6 separate regions of the Homo sapiens genome follow, and all the other regions are linked to region 6. Evidence: promoter capture Hi-C in 16 types of primary human blood cells and fetal thymus (Javierre and others, 2016). All regions are on one chromosome and are shown on one strand. The core of a region is centred on a gene start or on the middle of the fragment in contact, and the rest is flanking DNA. Distances in the headings are between cores, read along the strand shown. Region 1 holds the start of KLHL42 (kelch like family member 42). Region 2 overlaps MRPS35 (mitochondrial ribosomal protein S35). Region 3 overlaps LOC729291 (a long non-coding RNA gene). Region 4 overlaps DNM1L (dynamin 1 like). Region 5 has its middle 6.0 kb from the start of YARS2. Region 6 holds the start of IPO8 (importin 8).

Region 1 (2,700 bases), core at 138-2,637, 2.9 Mb after region 6:
AATCCCCCAAAGTCAGTGTTACAGGTTACTGTCCAGTGTATCATTATCATCAGGATCAAATCCTAAAAACTAAGACAAATTTTTTAAAAATTAAGGGGCAATTTTCTTTTAAAGTATTCTTGTAGGAAACCACAACATCTTTTTTCACAAGAACAGAGGCAAAGAAAGCAGTTTCACCTAAAGGCACAATACCTGCCAAAAAACCACTCCACTTCTTGACCTCACTGGGGACGTCCTCTTCGCAATTTCTTAGTTCATTGGGAATTTTGCCAGCGCCAAGGCCAACAACATTCCTGAAGATGTCATTTCCACCACAGCACACCCTCCCCTATTTACTGGCTCAGTAAACACTGGGGTAATGAACTAATGAACAAGTGAATGAATGAGAAGGCAGCAGCACTCTGCCGGGGTGCTTACCTCTTCTGGTTCATGGAGGCCACCTGGAGCCACTCGTTGGTGCTGGGGTTGTAGGAATGCGCAGCGGAGATCTCCTGGCTAGTGATCCTGTACCCGCCCACTATGAAGAGGTAGTTGTCCAGGATGGCAGACCCATAGCCCCTGACATTGACCAGGTCGGGAGGAAGGTTGTTGGCCAGCGGGAACCAACGCTCAGTCATCTCCTCGTACCTGAGCATGGACGGGGGCTCCCCCTGGTAGGGGTGAGGGGCCAGGGGTCCCCCCAGGAAGTCCCCGAGGGCCACGAGGACAGGAGTCCCAGTCATCCGGGCCTCCCTCAGCCTCTGCTTCAGGCTGACATCCCCTGGAGCTTGGGGAGGAGACCCCAGGAGGTGGAACTGGGGCTTGCACAGCACCTCGTGGAAGTGGACGACCATGAAGCGCAGGCAGGCCTCCTGCAGGTCGGGCAGCCCGTACACCTGCGCCAGGCGGTACATCTCCAGGCAGTTATTGAGCCGCACCTGGGACAGCAGCAGCTGCAGCAGGGACGTGACCTGCAGGAAGGAGGCCGCCTCCACCAGCTCGGACAGCAGGCTCACCTCATCCATCTCCTCGTCCTCGTCCACCCCGCCGCCCTTTTCCCCGCGCGGGCCCAGGAGCCAGCCTTCGCGGGCCCCGCCGGCGTTGATGAAGTCCAGCACCAGCCGCAGGCCCGGCGCGCTGAGGCCGCGCAGCTGCTGCACCTCCGGGCCGCCGGCCTCCTGGCTCAGGGCCTCGCGCATGCCGGAGCGGTAGAGGGCGCGGAAGTAGTCGCTCTGCTCGATGAGCTTCCTCTTGCTCACCGGGTAGCAGCGGTCCTCCAGGCGGATCTGCACCATCTCCTCGGCCGACATGGCTGGGGGCCCCGGGGCGGCAGCGCTCACCGCCAGATCTGCGCGCCGGCCTCCCAGCCCCTACGCGCGCGCCGGTTCCGGGCGGGGCGCCGAGGGATGGCGGCCCGGGAGGAGCGGCGAGGTGAGGGCCGCCCGCGCTCGCCCGGCCTCTCCGGCGGCCCCTCCTCCCGGGGCCCGCTCCCGCGAGGCGGCGGCCCTGCCCTTCTCCTTTCCCTCAGCGCCAAAAAAGGGCCGGCGGAGCGCGGCGGGCGTCCTCGCGCGGGCTCTCCCGGGCGGCGCCAGGCGGGAAGGGAATTCCAGCTCCCAGCCAGCAGCCTCCTCCCCCGCCGCCCTTCTCACTTCCGCCCGCGGGACCCCAGCCGCCGGCCTGACCTGCCGGCTGGATCCGGCTCTCGGGGAGGCCCGGGAAGCTGCGGGCCCGGGCGCCTCGGCTGCGGACGCGCAGCTGCGGGAGGCGGAGGGCGCGCGTCCCCGCAGCCTCTCCGCCCGCCCGGGGCGCGCCGGCTCCGCCGCTTGTTGGGGGCTGCAGTGATGCTCCGGGGTACCCCAGGGAGAAGAAATTCGTTTTCTCTCCCACGCTGCTTTACACGGGCTAAAGAAAAAGAAATGAGCGTGGGAGGAAAGGGAAGGATGGAGTCTCTGGTCCAGGGAGACAAAAAGGCATCAAATATGGGGTCGTCCTTCTGGCCCAGTCCGGCATCGAGTGTCAGTGGGCTGAGGCACGCAGGCGATCTATGGACAGTTGGTGGCAATGTTGGTGGCACGTAGAGCTGATTCTCTGGTAGCGTGGTCGCGTAGGAGCCATCTTACAGGAGGTCCAGGCAGATGGCAGCAGGTTCTCAGAGGAATCGGGTTGGGAGGCAGGGGAGCTTGCATTTGCCACTGGGGCCCCTTATTCTCCCTAAGTTATTAAAAGAAAGATGAAAGCGCAGCCCGACTAAATAAAGTTACATCACGTGGCTTCTGGTTTTAAACCATGTTTTCTATGAGCCATTGCTTTTCTACTTCAGTCCAGTCCATTACGGAATGTTATCCTGGCGCAAAAGATCTGACAAAATTGGCTCATAAATGTCTGCAAGAAGTAGCTTTTCTTGTCACCCCCTTTCTCCACCTACCCTGCCCCCATCATCTGAGGACTATTAAGAGAGACCACACGTGCGGTTTGGCTGAGCGCGGTGGCTCACGCCTGTAATCCCATGACTTTGGGAAGCCCAGGTGGGCAGATCACGAGGTCAGGAGTTCGAGAGCACCATGGCCAACATGGTGAAACCCCGTCTCTACTAAAAATACAAAAATTAGCCGGGCGTGGTGGCACGCGCCTGTGATCCCAGCTACTCGGGAGGCTGAGGCAGGAGAATTGCTGGAACCCGGGAGGCGGAGGTTGCAGTGAGCCGAGATCGCGCCACTGCAC
Region 2 (2,700 bases), core at 57-2,556, 3.0 Mb after region 6:
CCTAGGCCCAGAGAAAAACTAGTACTTGATAGCTTAGTCAATCACATTAACATTTATTTTTAATGGCATCAAATACGAGGGGATGGCCCACATACAAAAGTAGGGTTTATAGTGGCAAAATTCAGCCATGCCCCGCCTACGCAATATCAAAACCAGTGTAGTCAATATCCTAGAAGCAGGTAATAGTCCTGAGGAAATGACTGCTCTTAATGATTGTAATTTGATACCATTTAACTTCCAACTAATGTGTCTTTGTTCTGACACTATTGCTCACCAACTGACCTTATCGTTTAGATTCCTCCATAGAAGTAAGGAATCCAAATGTCCACAGGGTGAGACTCAACTAGTTAGAATACGGCCAGGTGCCGTGGCTCATGCCTGTAATCCCAGCACTTTGGGAGGCCAGGTGCAGTAGCTCACGCCTGTAATCCCAGCACTGAGGCGGGTGGATCACCTGAGGTCAGGAATTCAAGACCAGCCTGACCAACATGGTGAAAACCTCTCTCTACTAAAAACACAAAAAATTAGCCAGGCATGGAGGTGTGTGCCTGTAGTCCCAGCTACTTGGGAGGCTGAGGCAGGAGAACCACTTGAACCCGGGAGGCAGAGGTACCAGTGAGCCAAGACTGCACCACTGCACTCCAGCTGGGCAACAAGTGGGAAACTCTATCTCAAATAAATAATAATAAATAAATAAACAAACTAGTTATATTAATGCATAAGTCCCAGGCTGCAGGACTTAAGATAGCATTAGAAATTGTTCCATATTCTGGTTTATACACCTGTTTCCTGGGAGTTCCTCAGTAAGTCAACCTCTCAAAGATCATCTATTCTCTGGGTACTGACAAAAAACAAAGACTAACCTCTGCCAGGGCTATGGCAATCACCCAGTAAACATGACCTTGTGAAGTCTTCTCTGGTAACACCCTTCTGCCTTATAATGAATATCTGCCTCATTTTAGAACTCCAGAAACCATTAAGATAGTAGAGTATACGAACTTTTTACCTTTCTTCTTGGTGGCCTTTCATTTCCGGGTGTTCTTTCCGCTGTACGTAAAAGATAACACAGTAGTTAAAGAGAATTTTATCATGTCAAGTTAGTTGTTCAACATCAATCATGATCCCATTATTCTAACACAATTTAAGGTATTTAGTAACATAACAATGAAACAATCTTTTTTTTTTTTTTTTTGGTAAGCTCAGGGACCAAAATCATCTTAATGAAGACTAAAAACTGGAAACAGAGGGAGTCTCGGCGTATCACCCAGATTGGATTGCAGTGGTGTGATCTCGGCTCACTGCAACCTCTACCTCCGGAGTTCAAGTGATTCTCCTGCCTCAGCCTCCCAAGTAGCTGCGACTACCAGTACACCCCACCACACCTGGCTAATTTTTGTATTTTTAGTAGAGATAGAGTTTCACCATGTTGGCCAGGCTGGTCTCAAACTGCTGACCTGAAGTGATCCGCCTGCCTCAGTCTCCCAAAGTGCGGTGGGCAGGTGTGAGCCACTGTGCCTAGCCCCAGTAAGGAAAATTCTACAGTTATTTGAATTGCAGATACAGTGAATTCATTATCTAAAAAATGACTCTTACAGAGTCTGTCAAGTAAGACAACTTTTTAACAAATAATTTCAATAAACAGTGATAAATATTATGAACACATATAGCAGGGAACGAAACCTAGTCAATTAGTTTGTATGACGGTGAATTTTTTCTTTTTTCTCTTTCTTTCTTTTTTTTTTTTTTTTTTTGAGACAAGGTCATCTCACTCTCGCCCAGGCTGGATTGCAGTGGTGCAATCTCGGCTTACTGCAGCCTCGAACTACCAGGTTCAAGCCAATCCTTCTACCTCAGCACCCCAAGTAGCTAGGACTAAAGACATGAGCACACCCGGCTAATTCTTGTAGAGACGGTGTTTCGCCATGTTGCCAGGCTGGTCTCAAGCTCTTGAGCTCCAGCGATCCACCCACCTCAGCCTCCCAAAGTGCTGGGATTACAGGGGTGAGTCACTGTGCCCAGCCATGATAGTTAACTTTGTGTCAATTTGACTGGATTGAGGAATACATAGACATGTGGTAAAGCATTATTTCTGGGCATGTCTGTGGGGATGTTTCCAGGAGAGACAGGCATTTGAGTCAGTGGACTGAGTGAGGAATACCTGCTCTCAATGTGGGTGGGCATCATCCAATCAGCTGAGGGCACAGAAAGAACAAAAAGGCAGATGAAAGAAGAATATATTCTCTCTCTCTCTCTTCTGGACCTGGGACACTCTTCCCCTGCCCTTGGACATCAGAACTCCAGGTGCTCCAGCCTTTGGACTCCAGGAACTTGTACACGCAGCCCCCTGAGTTCTTAGGCCTTCAGCCTTGGCCTGAAAATTACATGGCTTCTGTGGTTCTGAGGTTTCTGAACTTGGACTGACATGGGCTTCCAGCTTGCAGACAGCCTATTGTGGGGTGAGTCAATTCCCCTAAAAAATCCCATCATATGTCTATATATCTACATCTACATCTATCCTATCCTACATCTACGTTCTGTCTCTCTGGAAAACTCTAATCAGTTGGGGAAAATCTCCCTGAGAAAGTGAACTTTAAGCTAAAACCTGAAAGATGAGCAGGACGTAGCCATGAAGACAAGCAGGTGAGAAAAAGTGTTTTGACAGAGTGAGAGCACATGGAAAATCAAAGTGAACAAATTCAA
Region 3 (2,700 bases), core at 25-2,524, 2.5 Mb after region 6:
CAAGTCAAGGACCACTTCTCACTTGTATATCCAGCAATCTACTCACTTCTCATTTGTCTTTGTGTATCCAGCAGTCTAGCAAAGTGTCTAGTAGTTAGAAAAAAGGTATTCATAAATATTTCTTAAACTTAGTAAGGTTACCTTTATATTATTTTGTCTCTCATATCTCTTTCTGCTGGAAACCAGATTAGTTTCTGGGAGTTCCTTCCCATTGATGTACTTACATGTTCACTCTGTCCCGATATTCAATACTAAACTGTATTCCATACTAAACAGATTTATAATAAGTAACTAATATTTATTATTAATATTTGCTATGTGCCTGGCATTAGATTAAATATTTTAAATCCCATATATAACTTACCACAATAATTTTACAAAGTAGGTATATTAATATATTTACACTTTAGATGAGGTTACAGATTTAGGAAGTGTAAATTGACCAAGTGGATTTAAAGCCAGATCTGCCCAACAGAAGGGCTTGTTTATTCACTATAGCACATCACTTTGCTTTTTATATCACTTATTTATCAGTGAATTCAAATCCTACCAACTCCATGAAATCTTTCTTCCTTCCCCACAGTAATCTTTTTCTTTATAAACAATTCAGTGATTTTAGTATATTCACAGAGTTATGCATGCTTTACCACATTCGATTTTAGAGTATTTTCACAGCCCCAAAAAGAAACCCCATACCCTTTGGCCCCAACTTCTCCCTCCTCTCCCCAGCCCTAGGCAACCAGTAATCCACTTTCCGTCTGTATGCATTTGTCTATCTTGAACATTTCATATAAATGGAATCATGCAATGTGTGGTCTTTTGTGACTGGCTTCTTTCACTTAACATGTTTTCAAAGTCCCTTCATCGGTTGGGTTGTTTCAGCTTTTTGAATATTATGAATAATGCTCCTGTTGACATTCATGTACAAGTTTTCGTGTCAACATATGTTCTCATTTCTCTTGGATATATACCTAAGAGTGGAATTGCGGGGTCATATGGTAACTCTATGTTTAACCCCTTGTGGAACTACCACACTGTTTTCCAAAGTGGCTGTACCATTTTACTTTCTCACCAGCAATGTATGAGGGCTCTAATTTCTCTATTGTGCCTTTTCTTGTCTCTCTAGAACATGTGCCTCTCTTACTTTTCAGAATACTTTTTCCATGAGCCATCTTCAATTATTATTCTTTGTTGTACATGTATCTGCAAGCCCATTTTCCTAATAGTTTGTGACCTTCTGAGATGAAAAACATGGTGCCTGCCCTTAAGAGAATCACATCTAGAAAAATATACAATCAAATCAGATATTACAGTGATAATAAACACTGAAATAAAGGTTATTGCTAAAAGGTGGAGAAAGAACACCTCACTCAGCCTAGGTTAAACAGGAAGTACTTCTCATAGAATGTATCAAAGCTCAGGATTAGTCCTGAAGAATCTATTGGAATTGACCAAGCTAAGGAAAGACATGAGTATGCTCCAGAAAAAGGAACATATACCTTTGTATATATTTCCTTGTCTATGAACTGTGGAGGTAAGTATATTTTGCAGGTAAGCATACCATAGAAGCAAACATTGTGGTATGCAGGTATGCAGCAGGAGAAATGGGAAATGTAGATGTAAGATGATGAAGAGTTTTGTAAACTGTGTTAAGGAGTTTGAACTGTATCCTGAAGGTAATGGGAAATTGCTGAATTAGTTAAGCAAGGTTGGAGAAGAATTACTTCAGCAGCAGTATAGAGGAAGGATTATTGGGTAGGAGAGACGGGGCCAAGACTAGAAAAACAAACAAACCAGATAGAAGACATAAAATAACTAAAATGAGGAATTAATGACTGCCTGAGCCGAGATGGTACCCATGAAATTGGCAGAAAGGATTTTAAAGGCACATGGCCAACAAAAAAGGAGGAAAGAAGCCAGTCACGGTGGCTTATACGTGTAACCCCAGCAATGTGGGAGGCTGAGGTAGGAGGATCACTGGAGCCTGGGAGGTGGAGGCTGCAGTGAGCTGTGATTGTGCCACTGCATTCCAGCTGGATGACAGAGCAAGACCCTTTCAAAAAAAAAAAAAAAAGGAGGAGTAAGAAGAAGAAGAAAGAATTGAAGATATATTCCAGGTTTCTGGCTGTAGTCATCAAGAGGAAGATTGGGCACTTGGTGATAAGAATAATGAAACACTACAATGATGGTATCTTAGTTTGTTCAGGCTGCTATAGAAAAATACTGGGTAGCTTATGAATGCAAATTTATTTCTCACAGGTCTGGAGTCTAAGAAGTTCAAGATTAAGACACCAGCAGATTGGATGTCTAGTGGGGCCCTGCTTTCTGGGTCATAGATTGTGCCTTCTAGCTGTGTCCTCATGTGGTGGAAGAGACAGGGCGGCTCTCTGGAGCCTCTTTTATAAGGGCAGTAATCCTAGTCATGAGGCTTGTGTCCTCATGATTTAATCACCTCCCAAAGGCCCCACCTCCTAACGCTATCTCATTGGTGATTAAGTTTAACATATGAATTGTGGGGGGACAAAAACATTCAGACCACAGCAGATAGGTTGCAGGAATTTAAACTGCCATTGAAGTTTATGTGCTGTTGCAGTCACCCACAGAAATGAGATGAACCCTCACCCAAACTTTGGCTCCTATTTCAAGACTTAGCATACCACATATGCACCAACAGGGTATAAAAAGGTTTATTACTCACAT
Region 4 (2,700 bases), core at 124-2,623, 2.0 Mb before region 6:
ATTAAGGGAAATTTAGGTCATCATTTGATTTTCTGAAATCTAAAAGGAACTGACCATCATTACCAAGTCTTTCTAGATAATCAAGGGTAGATGGCTGTTTTTAATGTAGGAATTAATGTAGGCATTCCTGCTTTCAGGTTTAAGTATGAATCAAAGCATATTTTAATTTGCTAGTGCAAATGGACCCAGAATTGGAAGGGCTATGTAACTACACAGTATGCACACCACAGCCATGTCAGTGTCACAGATCCTCTTGTGCATTCAGCTTTCTTAAAAACACATCAAAGGCTGCAAAGAAGCTCAGAAAAAACTAAATTGAAGGACAGGTGGAATACAATGACTCTATGTGAGGAACTTGCCAACTCACATCTTTCAAAGCCAGATCAGCTTATATAGTACATGCATTATAGTCATATGAAATGTTGTCTTGGTGCTTTCTTCTTGGAGGACTATGGCAGCAGCTTTAAGACTACTAACAAAGATTATTACACAGGTCATCTTATCCACAGGCAAACTGCTTTGCACAACTAGAACATTAACAGTTGTTTTTAAGTTAAGTTCAGATGAAACTGTCACAAGACAGACTTGATGTATTTTATATATACTGGGAAACTTTAGAAACAGCCATTTATTATTTGGATTAAATGTGTGATGTGTTCTGCAATTTGGAATACACTTTTCAGTTTATAGCCAGTCTCCACATGAGCAGATTCATACCATTGCAATACACAGGAGTTCATAAATAAGATTCTACTCAGGTAGGCAGTAACTAGCAAGTTTTGAGTCAACAAAGTCTCAGTATTACATAGTTCTCTTCACCAAAGATGAGTCTCCCGGATTTCAGCAATAATTTGACTGGCTCCTTGTAATGCCTGCATTAAAGGAAAAAAAATTTTAAATGCTTATTATAAAGTTATGAAATTAATCTGAATTACGCAGGGTAATTTTTCCAATATATATGTGGTAGGTTTATAACTAACCAGTTTATACTAACCAATATCTTCTCTGGAATTAGAATCTAATCAAGTACCGGCCAGGCGCAGTGGCTCATGCCTGTAATCCCAGCACTTTGGGAGGTCGAGGCGGGCGGATCATGAGGTCAGGAGTTAGAGACTATCCTGGCTAACATGGTGAAACCCCGTCTCTACTAAAAATACAAAAAATTAGCTGGGTGTGGTGGTGGGCGCCTGTAGTCCCAGCTACTCGGGAGGCTGAGGCAGGAGAATGGCGTGAACCTGGGAGGCGGCGCTTGCAGTGAGCCGAGATTGTGCCACTGCACTCCAGCCTGGGCGACAGAGCCAGACTCCCACTCAAAAAAAAAAAAAAAAAAAAAAAAAGATTCTTATCAAGTACCAACAGGAAACAAGCCTAGCTAGAATATAAAGACTATACATATCCAAGAATCAAACTGCATTTAAAACTATTTCTATGTTTCTATCTACTACCCAAGTATAAAAAATCAAAAGGTCCACAATACCTTTAGCATATCAGCTGCTTCTTTCCTGCGCTGTGCCATGTCCTCAGATTCTGTCAGAAGATCATCCAATAAGGATGATTTATACAGCTGGCCTACTAGCTCACTCTGAAGAGTGTCTTTCACATGATTAACCAAAAAATGCATTACTGCCTTTGGCACACTGCAAAACACAACCAAATTATGGAATTTTAGCCAAAATTCTACTTTTAACAATTTGGGCTTAGATGCTAACCTCATGAAATAAAGTTAAGTAAGAACACTACTACTTTGGATATTTCATTAATGGCATAATCGCCCTTTAGATTTTTGCTTAACTGTAATTAAACATTAAGAAAAGCAGTTCTCGGCCAGGCGCAGTGGCTCATGCCTGTAATCCCAGCACTCTGGGAGGCTGACGCGGGTGGACTGCTTGAGGCCAGGAGTTTGACAGCAGCCTGGCCAACATGGTGAAACACCGTCTGCACTAAAAATAAAAAATTAGCTGAGTGTGGTGGCACATGCCTGTGATCCCAGCTACTCGGGAGGCTGAGATACGAGAATCACTTGAACCCAGGAGGTGGAGATTGCAGTGAGCCAAGAACGCGCCACTGCACTCCAGCCTGGGCAACAGAGTGAGACTGTGTCTCAAAAAAAAAAACAAAAGCAACAATTCTTGATACTTTACCTTCTTTTCATCATCTTTATTTCAAAACTCTTCAATAAGCATTTATTCATAATAGCCAAGAAGTGAGAAAAATCCAAACATCAGCTGATGAATGCTTAAACACAGTATATCTACATAATCTAGTATTATTCACACAAAAGATATGTCACTTAATGACACGGATATGCTTTGAGAAATGCATTATTAGGTGATTTCATTACATGCACAGCACAGAGTGTACTTACACAAACGTAGATGGTATAGCCTATGACACGCCTAAGCTATATGGGATAGCCTATTGCTCCAGGCTGCAAACATGTACAGCATGTTACTGTACTGAATAGGGAACTGTAACACAATAGTATTTGTGTATCTAAACATAGGAAATGTACAGCAAAAACATGGTATCATAATCTAACGGGAACACATTCAAATACGTGGTCTGTTGACTAAAATGTTATGTGGTGCGTGACTATACTGATTCATACTACAGTATGGATGAGGCTTAAAAACATTAAGTGAGCCGGGTGCAGTGGCTCACGCCTATAATCCCAGCACTTTGGGAGGCCAAGACAGGTAG
Region 5 (2,700 bases), core at 154-2,653, 2.1 Mb before region 6:
TTGCTCTGTCGCTCAGGCTGGAGTGCAGTGGCGAGATCTCAGCTTGCTGCAATCTCTGCCTCCCAGGTTCAAGTGATTCTCCTGCCTCAGCCTCCCAAGTAGCTGGGACTACAGGTGCCGGCCACCATGCCTGGCTAATTTTTTGTATTGTTAGTAGAGACAGGGTTTCACCGTGTTAGCCAGGATGGTCTCGATCTCCTGACCACGTCGTGATTTGCCTGCCTCGGCCTCCCAAAATGCTGGGATTACAGGCATGAGCCACCGCGCCAAGCCCAGCCCATTTACTTCTAAAATGAGGACACCAAGGCTAGTGTGTTAAATGACTTATCTAAGGAGGAACAGGTAGTCAAGGTTAAGCTGAGATAGCTACTCATGTCTGTGACTCCTAGTCCCATGGTCTTTGGACCACGACTCAGAAGCACATTTTGTTATGGTTGTGAGGATGAAGGAAGTAATATTTGACTTTTCTGCAAACATTATGTAAATACAAGGTATTTGTTCCCCTTATGATGTTACAGAACATTAATGAGTGAGATGTTTCCAGACTTATTTCTCATTTTGGTAACTAACCAGTCAGTGCTTATAACAGAAAAACATAAAGTCCGTATTGAAGACACTGAGAAAAAAAGACAAAAATAGTTTTAATCAAAATAGAATTGCTCTACAAAACATAGAATGATTGCTTATTGTTTTGTTTCTTCTCCAATGGAGATATAAATTCACTTGGCCTTGATGGAGGGACAATGATGAGTTGATTGATTCACTTCTACTCTGTCAGAGAGACCAGAAAATTACTAAGGTAACTTGATAAATAGGAAAATTCCAAAATGATCTTCACTGAAGACATTATCCATTTGATCTAAGCTTTTCAGATGCAATCACAATAGTGTCTCCAAGATCCTCTTTCTAAGAGGGAAGCCTGCTTTTCTCATCACATTAGCAAACAGCCAGGCGGATTCGTTGCTTGCCAGTCATGGCTGAATTACAGTCCCGACAACATGGCCTGGGAAAGAACATGCTGGTAGGGGACTGCGGCGGCTATCACCAAGCTCAGAGCAGAAGGGGTGGATGTTGGGGAAAGGGTTCTGCGAGGAGAAAAATTCACTGCAGCAGGAGTGAAGGGAGACACAATTACATATTGAAAGGGGAAAAGCTGTTTGAATTCTACTCTACACCTCAATCACCACCCTCCTACAAGGGATGTCTTTCCCTTGGTCATATTCTCAACAAATGTTTCTCTCCCACAGCCCCCTCCTAATCTGCATGTTCTTCAACAGCTACCTAGGAGTCACTCTCTCTCTGCTCCAAAAATTGGGCGTGGAAAAGGAGCCCAATCAGAAAGAGGAAATGAAGAAAGAGGAAGTGAAGAATAAAACTGCTCAGAGAAAAATAACTTCATAGAATAATATTATCTCCATGAGGACAGGAATCTTTCTTTCATCCATGAATATATCCTAAGCCATTAGAACAGTGCCTGACTGATCAAATAATTCTAATAAATATCTGTTAAATGAATAAGCAAACATCTATGTCCTTAACCCACTAGAATGGTAGGAAATTGTTTCTCCATCATTATTAGCCTCCTTCCCGCTTCTAGGGTTTTACCAAAATTTGATCAACGTGCCCCAGGAAATAATATCTCTAATTTCCAATTGGTTCTGATCATTCTAGCCATCCTTGTTGGCCAAGCCTTCAGTGGTTCTCTGAGACCTCCAGCTGGCACTCAGGGGCTCTCCTGCCTCAAATGAAGCAGAGGAACCTTAGGCAAAGCCAGGAGCCCCAGGCTGGAAGTGTAGCAGGAGGTCGTCCCTTTGAGGCCAGGGAGCAATGCACAGCTCCTCTGGCAAACCAGGGCCATAGCCAGGGCTCCCTTGCCCAGGTTTGGGGCAGGGGCACTCTCTTTAAGCTGGAGAATCCTACCTCTTTCTCTTCTCTAAGCTTATTTCCTTAAACTTCATCCTATCTTAGGCTTTTGACTTTTGGAAACAAAAGTTACAAAGAGTTCCAGGATGACTCTGTATTCCTCCCCGACTTGTACTTTCCCCAAGGCACTGACACACAGAACTTGCTACAAATGGACAGTTAAAATGAAGAGAGGAAAATGAAAGATTTTTTATTTCTTTGTTTTTTTGAGACGGAGTCTCACTCTGTCACCCAGGCTGGAGTGCAATGGCGTGGTCTCAGCTCACTGCAACCTCTGCCTTCCGGGTTCAAGCGACTCTCCCGCCTCAGCCTCCTGAGTAGATGGGACTACAGGCGTGTGCCACCACACCTGGCTAATTTTTGTATTTTTGGAAGAGACGGGTTTTCACTATGTTGGCCAGGCTGGTCTCGAACTCCTGACCTCGTGATCTGCCCACCTCGGCCTCCCAAAGTGCTGGGATTACAGGCGTGAGCCACCGCACCCGGCCTGGAAAATGAAAGATTTTTAAACCCATAAATATCTCAAAACATTATCCAGCCATATGGTATGGGACCAGGTGCATAAAGTTAAGGCAATGCTGAGACCTCCAGGTTATTCCACTGGCTACAACAGCAGCCTAAAAGAAAGAAAGAAAGAAACTTGGGGTATCCTTCTCTAAACTCTAATATAGAAAGGAAATGCATATCTAGTAACATGTTTCTTTGTCTAATTATCCTCCTACAATCAGCATCTTAAAATAAGCTAATCTCTTATAAAAAATTTTTGGATGTTAATAT
Region 6 (2,700 bases), core at 168-2,667:
AGTTTTCAGTTTCTGTGACCTTTGTCTTTCTGAAATGGGAGAGGTTCCCTTGTCCCCCTCACAGGGCGTGCATTGGGGGTGTGGCTCGCTTCTTCAGTGCCCCGCTGCTCAGACCTCTAGAGAAGCATACAGACCGGCAGGCTGTGGGGCTCCGACCCCTTGACAGAGTCTGGGGGTGAATGTTTACAGCTCCTGAAGCCCCAGTGGGTGTGTGTTACAGGATGCTCTTTCAGTTTGCCTTTAGGGGGCTTGTGTTAACCAGCTCAATTAGACCCTCTACCTTGTCGCACAGACAGCGAGCTTTCTGTATCCTGGGTTCTTGCCTTGGTGTACCAGAAGAATTGGATCACACGTGGGCTTGGAGAATGAGTGCAAAGTTTTATTGAGTGGAAGTAGCCCTCAGCAGATGAGGGACCCAGAAGGGAAATGGTTTTCCTCTGGAGTTAGGCCGCTTGGCGGCCCGGGCTCTTTTCCGACTGCCCAGGCCAACCTCCGCATCGTTCTGCCCGTGAATGGCCTGCGGATGTGCCAGCGAGCTCCTCTTCTTCCACCCTTATGCTCCTCTGGACGTCTGGCTGCCTGTGTACCTGCCTGCTAGGGTCTGGGGTTTTCATAGGCACAGTATGGGGGAGTGGCAGGCCAGGGTGGTCTTGGGAAATGCAACATTTGGGCTGGAAGGCAGGAGTGTCAGTCCTCACCTAGGTCGGTGGGCGTGGAGCCCTAGCAAGGGACCACACACTCCTCTACCCAGCACTTCACTTCGCCCATCCCTATCATTTAAAGGGACCACGCTCTTCCCTTCCCAGCACTCCCCTATCATTTCTACACTGTAAATTTTTTTTGTTTATATTTGTCTCATCTATCAGGTTGTGAATTCCTTCACATTAACTTGCATGGAATTCATCTTGTTATAATGTGGTACCTAAAAATCCTAGTACTCTGGTTCAAAAATATATGTTTAACAAATGTTCAGTGAAAGCGAATGAATGAATGAACGATGACTCCCACACACGGAGGAACCCTGTCCTCCTGTAAGGTACATGATTTGAAGGTCCCAACAAGTCTATCTTGGAACAGGCCCAGTTGCGATGCCCATACAGTTCTCGGACTAACAAAAAGTGTCACACCATCCAGATATGCTTAATTTGGAAGCAGCTGTAAGCAGACTCCCGGCCAGCTCAAGTTTCCTCACCTGGGAAGAGGCGGGAGGCTGTTTACCGTACGGAAGCATAGCGGCCGCCTGCCTGAGTTCGGGAGCGCGGGTTCCTTTCCGGGAAAGAAGCCTAGGCCGTTTTCCGTACAGCAGCATGGCGGCCGCCGACGGGAGGCGGTCATAGCATCACGCCCGGGGGAAGAGGCCGCCGTAAAGGAAGCTCTGCTTCCTCTTCTTCCTTCTCCCGCCTCCCACCGGCTGTCGTAAAACGGTGAATGGAGAGCGAGTTGTGGGGGGGAAAAAGGGAGGACAGGGGGCGCGGAGTCAGAGTGGCGCAGCAAGTGGCCGCAGGTGGCGACGGTGGCGGGGGGTGGGGTGTGAGGTAATCCAGGGGTCGCGGAAGAGGAGGCTGAGAGGGTCAAAAGAAAACTAAAGCTGCAGTCCGGCCTACTGTTCCGGGGGCCGCGGAGCCCCCACCCGGGGAGATGGACCTCAACCGGATCATCCAGGCGCTGAAGGGCACCATCGACCCGAAGTTGCGGATTGCAGCCGAGAACGAGCTCAACCAGGTGAGGAGAGGGTCTTCGGCGACCCTCTTCCGCCGAAGGGGCGCCCCTGCCGGCTGGCCGGGCTCCCTCTCCCCGGCGCCCCTCGTCCTCACCCCCACCGGGCTGGGGCTGACGCCTCACGGCTGGTCCCGCTCTCCGACCCCGCTGCCCCCCGGTCCAGTGGAGCAGGGCTCCCAGGATCTTTGCCGAACAGCTCGCGCACCTGTTGGCCACCTTTGCACCTTTTCGTGTCGTCTCCCTTCTCCAGGGCAGTTTGTTCTGCCTACTTGGTCCGCAAGAAGCAGTTTTTGCAACCTGTGCTAGTGTTTTCAGGGTGTGATTTATTTTCCTTAAGTGCGCGGACTTGGGGAGCAGGTGGGAATTTTACTTACAGTTCAAATCTGAGTTCAGCTTTTTTCCAAACCCAGCCCTTTTTAGGTGTTGCTGTGGAGCACGCTGCCCACCGCCTCCTCCTGTCGGGTTGGCAGGACTGTTTTGACACCGATTGGCCGAGTTTTGCGGAGCGCTGGGCAGTGCTGTTGGGAGAGTGCTCTGGGAAGAATAGGCAGTTTTCATGGTGATACTGCTTTATCTAAGACACATCAAAGTAAGATGTGTTGGAGAAATTTCTTATGAATGCTAAAATGTGTAAGACTTCTTTCTTTTCTCCGTCTCCTGTTCTTCCTAATTAGCCTTGACGTCTTTCCAGCGTTACCCCCACACTTCAAAATTTTAATGATCCCAAACTCCAGCTTATTTCTTCTTCCCTACCGGTACTTAAGAATCACAGACCTCTTACTAAAAAGTAGGGATTAAGAGCTACCACTGGGATGGAGCAACAGCTGTTTTAGGTTGTGATGACTTGTAAAATGTAAATATTCCAAAATCAGCTGTTCTCAAAGCGTTGCCCAGGACCTGGAGCTTCAGCATCACCTGAGAACTTACAAATTATGCAAATTACGGGGCTTCAGTCCAGACTTAACGAATCAGAAACTGTGG

What was found. Contacts are between HindIII fragments. The CHiCAGO score rates a contact against its expected background, and 5 or more counts as called.
Region 1: the fragment with the promoter of KLHL42 here is called in contact with the fragment with the promoter of IPO8 in region 6 in 2 of 17 cell types (M0 macrophages and M1 macrophages); the score reaches 7.1 in M0 macrophages.
Region 2: a fragment that was not itself captured here is called in contact with the fragment with the promoter of IPO8 in region 6 in 2 of 17 cell types (total B cells and naive B cells); the score reaches 6.2 in total B cells.
Region 3: a contact is called between a fragment that was not itself captured here and the fragment with the promoter of IPO8 in region 6, in 1 of 17 cell types (naive B cells). The highest score is 5.0, in naive B cells.
Region 4: a fragment that was not itself captured here is called in contact with the fragment with the promoter of IPO8 in region 6 in 2 of 17 cell types (activated CD4 T cells and total B cells); the score reaches 5.1 in activated CD4 T cells.
Region 5: a fragment that was not itself captured here is called in contact with the fragment with the promoter of IPO8 in region 6 in 1 of 17 cell types (total B cells); the score reaches 6.0 in total B cells.

Annotation. Positions count from the first base shown.
Region 1 is chr12:27,778,920-27,781,619 of GRCh38, reverse strand. It overlaps KLHL42 (kelch like family member 42), which reads right to left and starts at 1,387. Exons shown (of 3, transcript NM_020782.2): 1 at 418-1,387. The coding sequence starts at 1,289. It overlaps MANSC4 (MANSC domain containing 4), which reads left to right and starts at 1,384. Exons shown (of 4, transcript NM_001146221.5): 1 at 1,384-1,410. RefSeq lists an enhancer at 871-1,370 and silencers at 1,236-1,545, 1,566-1,785. The HindIII fragment of the contact is 8,648 bases long and covers 1-2,700 here.
Region 2 is chr12:27,713,127-27,715,826 of GRCh38, reverse strand. It overlaps MRPS35 (mitochondrial ribosomal protein S35), which reads right to left. Exons shown (of 8, transcript NM_021821.4): 2 at 1,007-1,047. Among named protein-coding and RNA genes, the nearest start is that of MRPS35, 3.6 kb to the right of the region's middle. The HindIII fragment of the contact is 6,666 bases long and covers 1-2,700 here.
Region 3 is chr12:28,186,442-28,189,141 of GRCh38, reverse strand. LOC729291 (a long non-coding RNA gene) reads left to right here. Exons shown (of 1, transcript NR_148936.1): 1 at 1-2,700. Among named protein-coding and RNA genes, the nearest start is that of CCDC91, 2.7 kb to the left of the region's middle. The HindIII fragment of the contact is 3,286 bases long and covers 1-2,700 here.
Region 4 is chr12:32,741,526-32,744,225 of GRCh38, reverse strand. It overlaps DNM1L (dynamin 1 like), which reads right to left. Exons shown (of 20, transcript NM_012062.5): 19 at 1,478-1,637; 20 at 1-872. The coding sequence ends at 816. Among named protein-coding and RNA genes, the nearest start is that of YARS2, 13 kb to the left of the region's middle. The HindIII fragment of the contact is 8,280 bases long and covers 1-2,700 here.
Region 5 is chr12:32,760,538-32,763,237 of GRCh38, reverse strand. No RefSeq gene overlaps it. Among named protein-coding and RNA genes, the nearest start is that of YARS2, 6.0 kb to the right of the region's middle. The HindIII fragment of the contact is 1,074 bases long and covers 867-1,940 here.
Region 6 is chr12:30,694,586-30,697,285 of GRCh38, reverse strand. IPO8 (importin 8) reads left to right here and starts at 1,417. Exons shown (of 25, transcript NM_006390.4): 1 at 1,417-1,722. The coding sequence starts at 1,639. RefSeq lists an enhancer at 1,028-1,527 and a silencer at 1,618-1,667. The HindIII fragment of the contact is 4,530 bases long and covers 1-2,700 here.